Regions from separate parts of the Homo sapiens genome. Here region 1 is linked to region 2. The links are contacts of gene promoters, found by promoter capture Hi-C in blood cells and fetal thymus (Javierre and others, 2016). All regions are on one chromosome and are shown on one strand. The core of a region is centred on a gene start or on the middle of the fragment in contact, and the rest is flanking DNA. Distances in the headings are between cores, read along the strand shown. Region 1 overlaps RPS6KA5 (ribosomal protein S6 kinase A5). Region 2 holds the start of CCDC88C (coiled-coil domain containing 88C).

The links. The method cuts DNA at HindIII sites, captures the fragments that hold promoters and counts their contacts. A CHiCAGO score of 5 or more calls a contact.
Region 1: a contact is called between a fragment that was not itself captured here and the fragment with the promoter of CCDC88C in region 2, in 1 of 17 cell types (total CD4 T cells). The highest score is 5.1, in total CD4 T cells.

The regions. Positions count from the first base shown.
Region 1 is chr14:90,898,859-90,902,752 of GRCh38, reverse strand. RPS6KA5 (ribosomal protein S6 kinase A5) reads left to right here. Exons shown (of 17, transcript NM_004755.4): 10 at 2,017-2,142; 11 at 2,512-2,645; 12 at 3,331-3,424. Among named protein-coding and RNA genes, the nearest start is that of LINC02321, 73 kb to the right of the region's middle. The HindIII fragment of the contact is 2,511 bases long and covers 109-2,619 here.
Region 2 is chr14:91,415,762-91,419,984 of GRCh38, reverse strand. It overlaps CCDC88C (coiled-coil domain containing 88C), which reads left to right and starts at 2,165. Exons shown (of 30, transcript NM_001080414.4): 1 at 2,165-2,354; 2 at 3,147-3,247. The coding sequence starts at 2,295. CCDC88C-DT (CCDC88C divergent transcript) reads right to left here and starts at 1,739. Exons shown (of 3, transcript NR_184261.1): 1 at 1,645-1,739. It also overlaps the pseudogene LOC112268126. RefSeq lists enhancers at 750-799, 1,040-1,684, 3,290-3,579, 3,590-3,719, 4,110-4,223 and a silencer at 1,750-2,669. The HindIII fragment of the contact is 7,798 bases long and covers 1-4,223 here.

The DNA of each region.
Region 1 (3,894 bases), core at 115-2,614, 520 kb after region 2:
ATTAAATTTCCCATATTGAAGTAGTTTTGTTGGCATCATAAAAATGGGATTCTCTAATATCCTCTAAATTATTAAATGCAGAAATATTGCACATTGTTAACCGAAGCTTATAGTTTGCTCAATAGCAGATATTGTTTATGCATTTATTTTTGATATAAGGGAAGTTTTAATTTTATACCTGAAATTTTATTTTTGTTCAGATTCTTTTATAGAAAATACAATAATCTTTTATTTTACCTCTATTCATATTTAAAAATTTTTATTTATATAGACAGGGTCTCACTCTGATGCCCAGACTGGAGTGTAGCAGTGCTGTCCTAGCTCACTGCAGCCTCAGACTCCTGGGCTCAAGTGATCCTCTCACCTTAGCCTCTGGGATAGCTGAGACCACAGGTGCAAACCAGCACACCCAGCTAATTTTTCTATTTTTTGCAGAGATAGGATCTTGCTATGTTGCCTAAGCTGGTCTTGAACTCCTGGCCTCAAGTGATCCTCCTGCCTTGGCCTCCCAAAGTGCTGGCATTACAGGCATGAGCCACCACGTCCAGCCAAAAAAATTTTTTTTTTTTAAGAAACAAGGTCTCACTCTGTCACCCAGGCTGGAGTGCAGTGGCATGATCATAGCTCACTGCAGCCTTTTTAACTGCTTGGCTCAGGGGATCCTCTTGCCTCAGCCTCCTGAATAGCTGGGACCACAGGTGCATGCCACCACACCCACCTAATTAAAAAAAAATTGTAGAAACAGGGTCTTACTTTGTTGCCTAAGCTGGTCTTGAACTCTGGCCTCAAGCGATCCTCCTGCCTTGGCCTCCCAAAGTGCTGGGATTCTAGGCATGAGCCACCGTGCCCCTCAACCCCCATATAAAAACATTCTTTAGTTCACAATGTTACCTTATTCTTTACCTTCAGTAATTAATCTTAACTGCTGTTAAAAAAAGATTTAGATTTTATATTTAGAAAAGGGCATTTGTCACACAAGATAAAATATTCTAACTATTAAATGGCATCAGAGCTTTGCTTCTTTGACTTCTATAAGTATACCTTTAGTATGGCTTAATCTGGCCATCCAGACGGTGTCTTTTCTTCTTTGCTTATCACTGTCTAGTATGTGACTGGGCACTTATTGAACATTTTTTTAAATGTTTGTTGATTAGTGAATGTTCTAGCTTGAACGGATTAATCATCCGTCTTTGTACCACTTAGCTCAGAGCATCATTCTGCCATTAGACTTTGTTCCTTTCCAAAACTCAATTTTAAATTTAATTATTCTGAAGATATTAATAAGAATCAAATAATTGCTAAATTAGAAACTAACTTTAGTGAGACTTGCCATTTTTCCAGTTTGAAAAACAATAGCATTTAAAGACCACTTTGTGGCTGGGTCTGGTGGCTCAGGCCTTTAATCCCAGCACTTTTGGAGGCCGAGGTGGGTTGATCACTTGAGGTCAGGGGTTTGAGACCAGTTCGAGACATGGTGAAACCCCGTCAGGCATGGTGGCATGTGCCTATAATCCCAGCTACTTGGGAGGCTGAGGCAGGAGAATGGCTTGAACGCAGGAGGCAGAAGTTGCAGTGAGCCAAGATCGCACCACTGCACTCCAGCCTGGGCAACAGAGCCAGACTCAATCTCAAAAAAAAAAGACCACTTTGTTTAATACCTTGACTGTATCCTTTTTTGAGAAGTTAGTTATGTTTGTAAACAAATTTCATCAGCAAACCAGGAGAATTTCATCTATGAGTCTGATTTTGGGGGTGGAATAGGGAAGAAGTCTTTTTCTACCTTTATTTTTGAATTGGTTTAGTTCTACCAGAAGATGGCATTATATCCTTCTGAACAGCATTTTTCAAATGATTTGAAATAACCTTGCATTTTAGATTGCAAATAAAATAAAATTAGACTCATCTCAACAAATATTTGAGTGTTTTTCTAAGGAAAAAAAGTCATTACAATCTAATCTGTGTTAAACTGGAAAACTGCAAGTTGTTTTTCTTTATCTTTCTTTGTCTTGTTTTTAGGGCTATTCCTTTGTTGCTCCTTCCATCCTATTCAAGCGTAATGCAGCTGTCATAGACCCTCTTCAGTTTCACATGGGAGTTGAACGTCCTGGAGTGACAAATGTTGCCAGGAGTGCAATGATGAAGGTATATAGATGTGGTAACTTATATGACATATTTGTAGGTTTTGTGAGTGTTTAAATACCAACTCTAATTAATGTTCTTAAGTCTAGTAATTCAACTAAAGTGCAATTTTAAAAGTGGGATATAGCAATATTTTCCCTAGAGAATTAACGTCAAGTTGAATGAACTTCTTTTTACAATTATAGAGAATTATGTATCTTAAATAATTATTTAGATGAAAATAGAAGTTACCTATAAAGATGAATTTTAGATTATAAATGTATTCTATTCCTGTTTATTAATATTAATAATTTTATTTTACTCTACAATTTTATTGATCCTTTGTGTATTACTGACATTTTCTGAAGTTAAATGATGTTGATTTCTTGACAGGACTCTCCATTCTATCAACACTATGACCTAGATTTGAAGGACAAACCCCTGGGAGAAGGTAGTTTTTCAATTTGTCGAAAGTGTGTGCATAAAAAAAGTAACCAAGCTTTTGCAGTCAAAATAATCAGCAAAAGGTATGACCATTTTTAATATAATATTCTTTCTTAGGTATTCATGAATTCTGTAAATTAAAAGATATTTATTTTAATTGAAACCAGTATTATATTGTAAGACTTTCTTACCCAAAGGTTTAACCACTTGGCTCATCAGTTGGTCCATTATACTTTTAGCTCTAATTGATATTTTCTGATAAAGTAATCCATTTTAGACATAAATCATAGTCTTATTTGCTTTTGAGTTTATCTAGAGAAAACGTCTTTGTGACAGTGACATATTTAATCAGGCTCACATAGTGATTTTGGCAGCCATTGCCATTTCTACTAGTTGTGTATTTGAAATATTTTTCTCTAAAATTATTTAGCAAGCTACTGATAGCTTTGAGAGCCATCTAGTTGTTTTGGTAACTGATGATTATTATTAAGATTGCATATTCTTATTACTCTAAATTGTCAGGAAAGTAGAGCATTCATTTCCTCATATGATTTGTACTTTTCTGACTCAGAAATAATAATTTTCTCCAGAATATTACTTTTTCTAGTGTGTGGTATAATTCATTACTTTCATGGAAACCTCATTACAGTATACTGTAACATGTATATTCTGAATGCACTGTAAATAAGACAAAATTAGTCTTGGGGCAGTACTGATATAAAAACTTTCTTGAAGAGACATGTGGATGCTAAGTGTCTCATCTTGCAGGATGGAAGCCAATACTCAAAAGGAAATAACAGCTCTGAAACTCTGTGAAGGACACCCCAATATTGTGAAGTTGCATGAAGTTTTTCATGATCAGGTATCCTACTTTTTTTTTTTTTTTTTCCCATGTGTACTAATTCACTTACAGGGTTGTACTTTTCACGCGTTTTGTTGGTGCTGCTGGGTCAGAGTCAGGGATATAGAACATCACCCAGCCACCAGAAAGGGCAGTGAAACCACCCTCTCAAACCCCTCCCCAACCACACACTGTTTCCCAACCCCAAATCAGGTTATCCCTTCACCTCTCATGCTTTTCTCACTCAGCAGTTAACCACCTATGACAGGAAGACGGAGGGCCAGGAGCTCAGTGGTGCAGTCACTGGCTACAATGTGCTTGTTGCCAGTGCCGCTTCTACCCACCATCACTTAATCCTGGAGTACCTCTCAGGACTCAGGAATTTTGAGCCTCCAACTTCCCTTTCACTTCTAGAGTAAAACTGAGAGAGCCTGGAGCCTAATTAATGCAAGCTAAAGGACAAATAGGAAGCAGAAAGCAAAGATACTCCT
Region 2 (4,223 bases), core at 916-3,415:
GCCACTGCACTCCAGCCTGGGCAACAGAGTGAGACTCTGTTGTCTCAAAAAAAAAAAAAAAAAAAAAAAAGAGAAAAGAAAAAAAGATTTTTATTTCAGATAAAATTAATATTTCCATAATTAGGATACACACATAATTAGCAAACACACATTCTTGAGTCCATTATTTAAGGTTTATTCTATAAACGACTTCCATGAGTATTAGAGATCCTGAATGTCATCTGAATATTTGTCTACACACTTGTGGGCAGCTTCTGTAGACTTTTCTTTGTAGAAATTCCAGTTTTTCTGAATTCTTCCTTTTCCTTCAGGTTTTCCACTTTGCATTATTCATAAAAGGCTGGGTCATTATAGTGAGCTGTTAAGACATTCTTTCAATGCAGAATTTTCTTTCCAGCATTTTACTACCATAAGGATTCCAGAGTTCTTGCAACATTTGGTAAAATCTTGAACTTGTCAGAAGACCTCTCTCTGGCCTTTTCTCTCATTATTTTAGGGATCAAAACATCTTTTTCGACACGTCTGAGCTGCTGCTCCAAAAACCTGTAGTGTCTTCCCATTGTTTTTGGTATAAAAATCAAACTCCTTGAAATGGTTTACAGGACATTTCATGATTCACAACTGAAACTCCTCCACAGCGATGGCACACACTCCTCTTTGATCTCAATTCTTCTTTCTTGTGGTCTTTGCTTAAACCACTGTTCTTTAAATTTCACAGAGCAACCATCAGAGTTGTTAAATTAATCCGCGGGGTCGAGTGCCATCGCGGCGGGCGGAGAAGCAATTAAGGAACTTCTCTAATGAACTTCTGGTGCACAACAAAACCATGTAGTCTCGAAATTTTAGTTCCTCCGCAGTCCCCCATTGTGTTTTATGCTACCCCGCCTTCCACAGTCTCTAGGGACCCCTAACCGACCCCCTTGGCTCTCAGGCCATAATCTCACAACCCTCCCCAGCCCAACGGGGTCCGCCAGCGCTGGGCTGTAATACCACTCGCCACCAGCAGATGCCGCAGCCCCAACGCTGCACAGAGCCAACTTTCAAAATTACCACCGAGCCTGTCGGCAGCCATTTAGTGCCTGCTGTATACTTGCCAAGCGCCACGCAGGGCCCTTCGGGTCAACCCTGTACCAGTTGGCCCAGCTGCGAAATGCGGCGATCGTTAGGGTTAAATTAGTAAAATGGTCTACAGTGCTTTGAACAATGACCGGCTGGTGGTGTGAAATTATTACCAGGCCGAGACCAGCCTGGAGCCGGCTCCTGCCTCGTGCCGTCCCGCAAGGAGGTCCTGCCCCCGGGCTTGCCTTCCAGCCAGTTGGGGCCTTTGCCCTTTTTCCTGTCGCCTGCCACTAAGCTGCTGCTAGGAACCCCGGCTGGAATTTAGCTCGCCTCCGGCAAAGTGGTGGGGGCGGGCCCGGGTCGGGGAGGCCACATCACCTGCTTCCTGCAGGAACTTTTAGAAGGCAGGCAGCCCGGAACATGGCACGGTGGGGCACGGTAGGGCGCGAGGGGCCGCGCCCCTAAGGCCTAAACTCAACATAAAGTTTCTTCTTTGCCCTCCAGCCCAGCCCCAGGGTCGGGGCGCGTTTATCGCGCCGCGCACAAGCGTGAGGAGCGGGGGTTTGCGGGGCCTCTTGACTGTACCTGGGGCTGCACCTGCCAGGAGTGCGGAAAGGCGCAGGGCCGAGGTCCCCAAGCCCAGAGCGGGCGGCAGCTGCGGGCGACCTCGGAGGGCAGAGCAACCTCGGAGGGCAGGGCGTCCCCGCTCCCGGCACGCACCAGTGCCCGCGCACCCCAGCTCGCACGTGGCGCTCGGGCCCCGGCTGCACGCGCACGCGCGCAGGGATGCGCCACGTGCTGGGGCCCCACACGCGGGGAGGCTGCGCTCGGCGAGGGCGCGCGGTCCCACGGGCGGGGAGCCGGGCCCCGCGACCCACCCGCCTCGGGCCACCAGTCCCCTCCCAGCGCCCCGCGTAGCCTGGTCCCGCGCCCGGGCTCCCGGGCTCCCGGGCTGGCACCGCGAGGCGGCGCGCCGGTCGCCCAGGGCCGCCGAGGGGCGGGGCCGCCCGTATTGTTCCTCCCCGAGCGGCTGGCCCTCCCCTTCCCCCAGACCCGGGCGGGGCGCGGGGCCGCCGAAGCCGCGGAACGTGGGCTCGCGCGCCCCGCCTTTGTCTCCCGGGCGCGAGCCGCCGCAGCCCCGCGCCCGCTGCTCGCTGCGGAGCCGTTTTGTGCCGCGGCGCGGGGGAACGGGGACGCGGGGCGGGGGGCGCGGAGCCGGCGGGCGCAGCCTCAGCATGGACGTGACAGTCTCGGAGCTCCTGGAGCTCTTCCTGCAGAGCCCGCTGGTGACCTGGGTGAGTGCGCCTGGCTCCCCGCCCCTTTGTTGGTGCACCGGCTTCTCTCTAGCCCGGCGACGGGACGCCGCAGACCCGACACGGCCGGGGCCCCGGGTGGCTCCGGGGCGCGAGGGACGCAGCAAGTGGCTCCCGGCCGGGGTTGGGGCCGCGTCCTGGAGTCCGGAGCTTTGTAACTCTGGAGCCGGCGCCCCCGTTGTGCGTCCGGCGCGGGACCCCGCCGCGCTTTCGGCCGGGCCAGGAGCCGGGCGGGTACACCTGTTCCCGCTGGGGCTCTAGGCTGGCTGCCTCGGGGCGGACCGGGTCCCAGTGGTCACTCCTGTCCCTGGGGTTTAGCCACTCCCGAAAAGGACCCCATTCTTCCCAACCAAATATCTCATGTAGTTTTTCTGAATCCCTGAGACCAGCCGGTGGATGGCGGTGACGGGTGGGGAATGGGGGGCGCCGAATGGGAAAGCGAACAGACTGGGGTGGGCGCACTGATTTACAATGGATTTGAGACGTGAGACATTTATTGAAAAGTCCTTTTTATTTTTATTTCTTCCGCTCTGGAACGCGGGAGAAAAGTGGCGAGGAAGTTTTTCCTCCTGTCTCGTGTCTGTTGCCCCGCGCGGGGAGGGGAGACAGGCCCTAGGAGAAGGCCGGGCTTGGTGCCTGCTGAAGGGTGGTGTGGGCGTGGGTGACCCCCTTCTGCTCACACTGACCCGTCCAGTCTCTGCCTGGGAGAGCTTTGGACCGTTTGTGCGCACGGGGTGACTTCCTGTCTTTCTCTCCTCGTCCCCCTCCCCGCAGGTGAAAACTTTTGGCCCGTTTGGAAGCGGCAGCCAGGACAACCTGACTATGTACATGGATTTAGTGGACGGCATCTTTTTGAACCAAATTATGCTGCAAATGTAAGTTACCTTCTTCTCGGAGGAAGGAAAGAATGGTGCGTTAGAAAGTTTGAGAGTAGAAATGGAGTGGAAGGTTGCATGGCGGGGTGTGTGTGGGGTGGGGGGTAGTTCTCTGAAGGTGGAGACGCTGGTATCTCAGTATTAACGTGCCTGTTGGACATTCGTAGGTGTTTGAAGAACTCCAGGACAGTGGGTCTGGCAGTTGGTTTGATGAAGGAAATTTGGAATTGAATGACTGTCATTTACGTGGTGTAGATAGTGCAATTGACTTCAGACTCAAGGACTTAATTGTGGTTTGAGCAATGAAATGAAAAAGTCCCCTTTTGGAGGGCAAGGAACTGTAACGGAGAGTGTCTGGTTACAGGAAGTGTCGGGGTGGGCCCAGGCATCCGAGGGTTACTGTAAAGTTTCATTTTAGATGAGGGTGTCTGTGTTTCTGAGCTCCTTTACATTTCATCTTCCTTTTTCAGTTGCCCCAAAGCAAGTGCAATTCATTAAGTCCTACTGTATGGACTGAGTTTAAAGTCACAGTGTTAGGAGGGTCCCATGGTGCTGTTTGTTTGGAAGCATGCAGCCTGAACAGGGTCTTAGTAGAAGTTACTCTTGCCAGCGAGTACATCTGACCACATCCTTTCCTGTTGCTGAGCTCTGCACGGCCTGATTGACAGCTTGCCACAACGTAGGTGTTGGCTTCTACCTTTGCATTCTGTTTTTAACTCAAACTGCAGGGAACATTGGAACTGAGTGTCGGGATGATTCACAGGCACTTGAAGCAAAATAAAACATCCTAATGTTCTCTGTGGATCAGCCTCGTGTGCGCACCTATTCACCTACGACTGAGCAAGTTGTCATACTGGAGCATAAATCTATTAGCTAATGAGAGATCAGCTTCGTTTGTGGCTCACAAAGGCAGAGGAGCAGTTTGCTTTGGCATATCCAGAAAGTGGCTTATATAGATTGCCTTAAACAGCCTGTT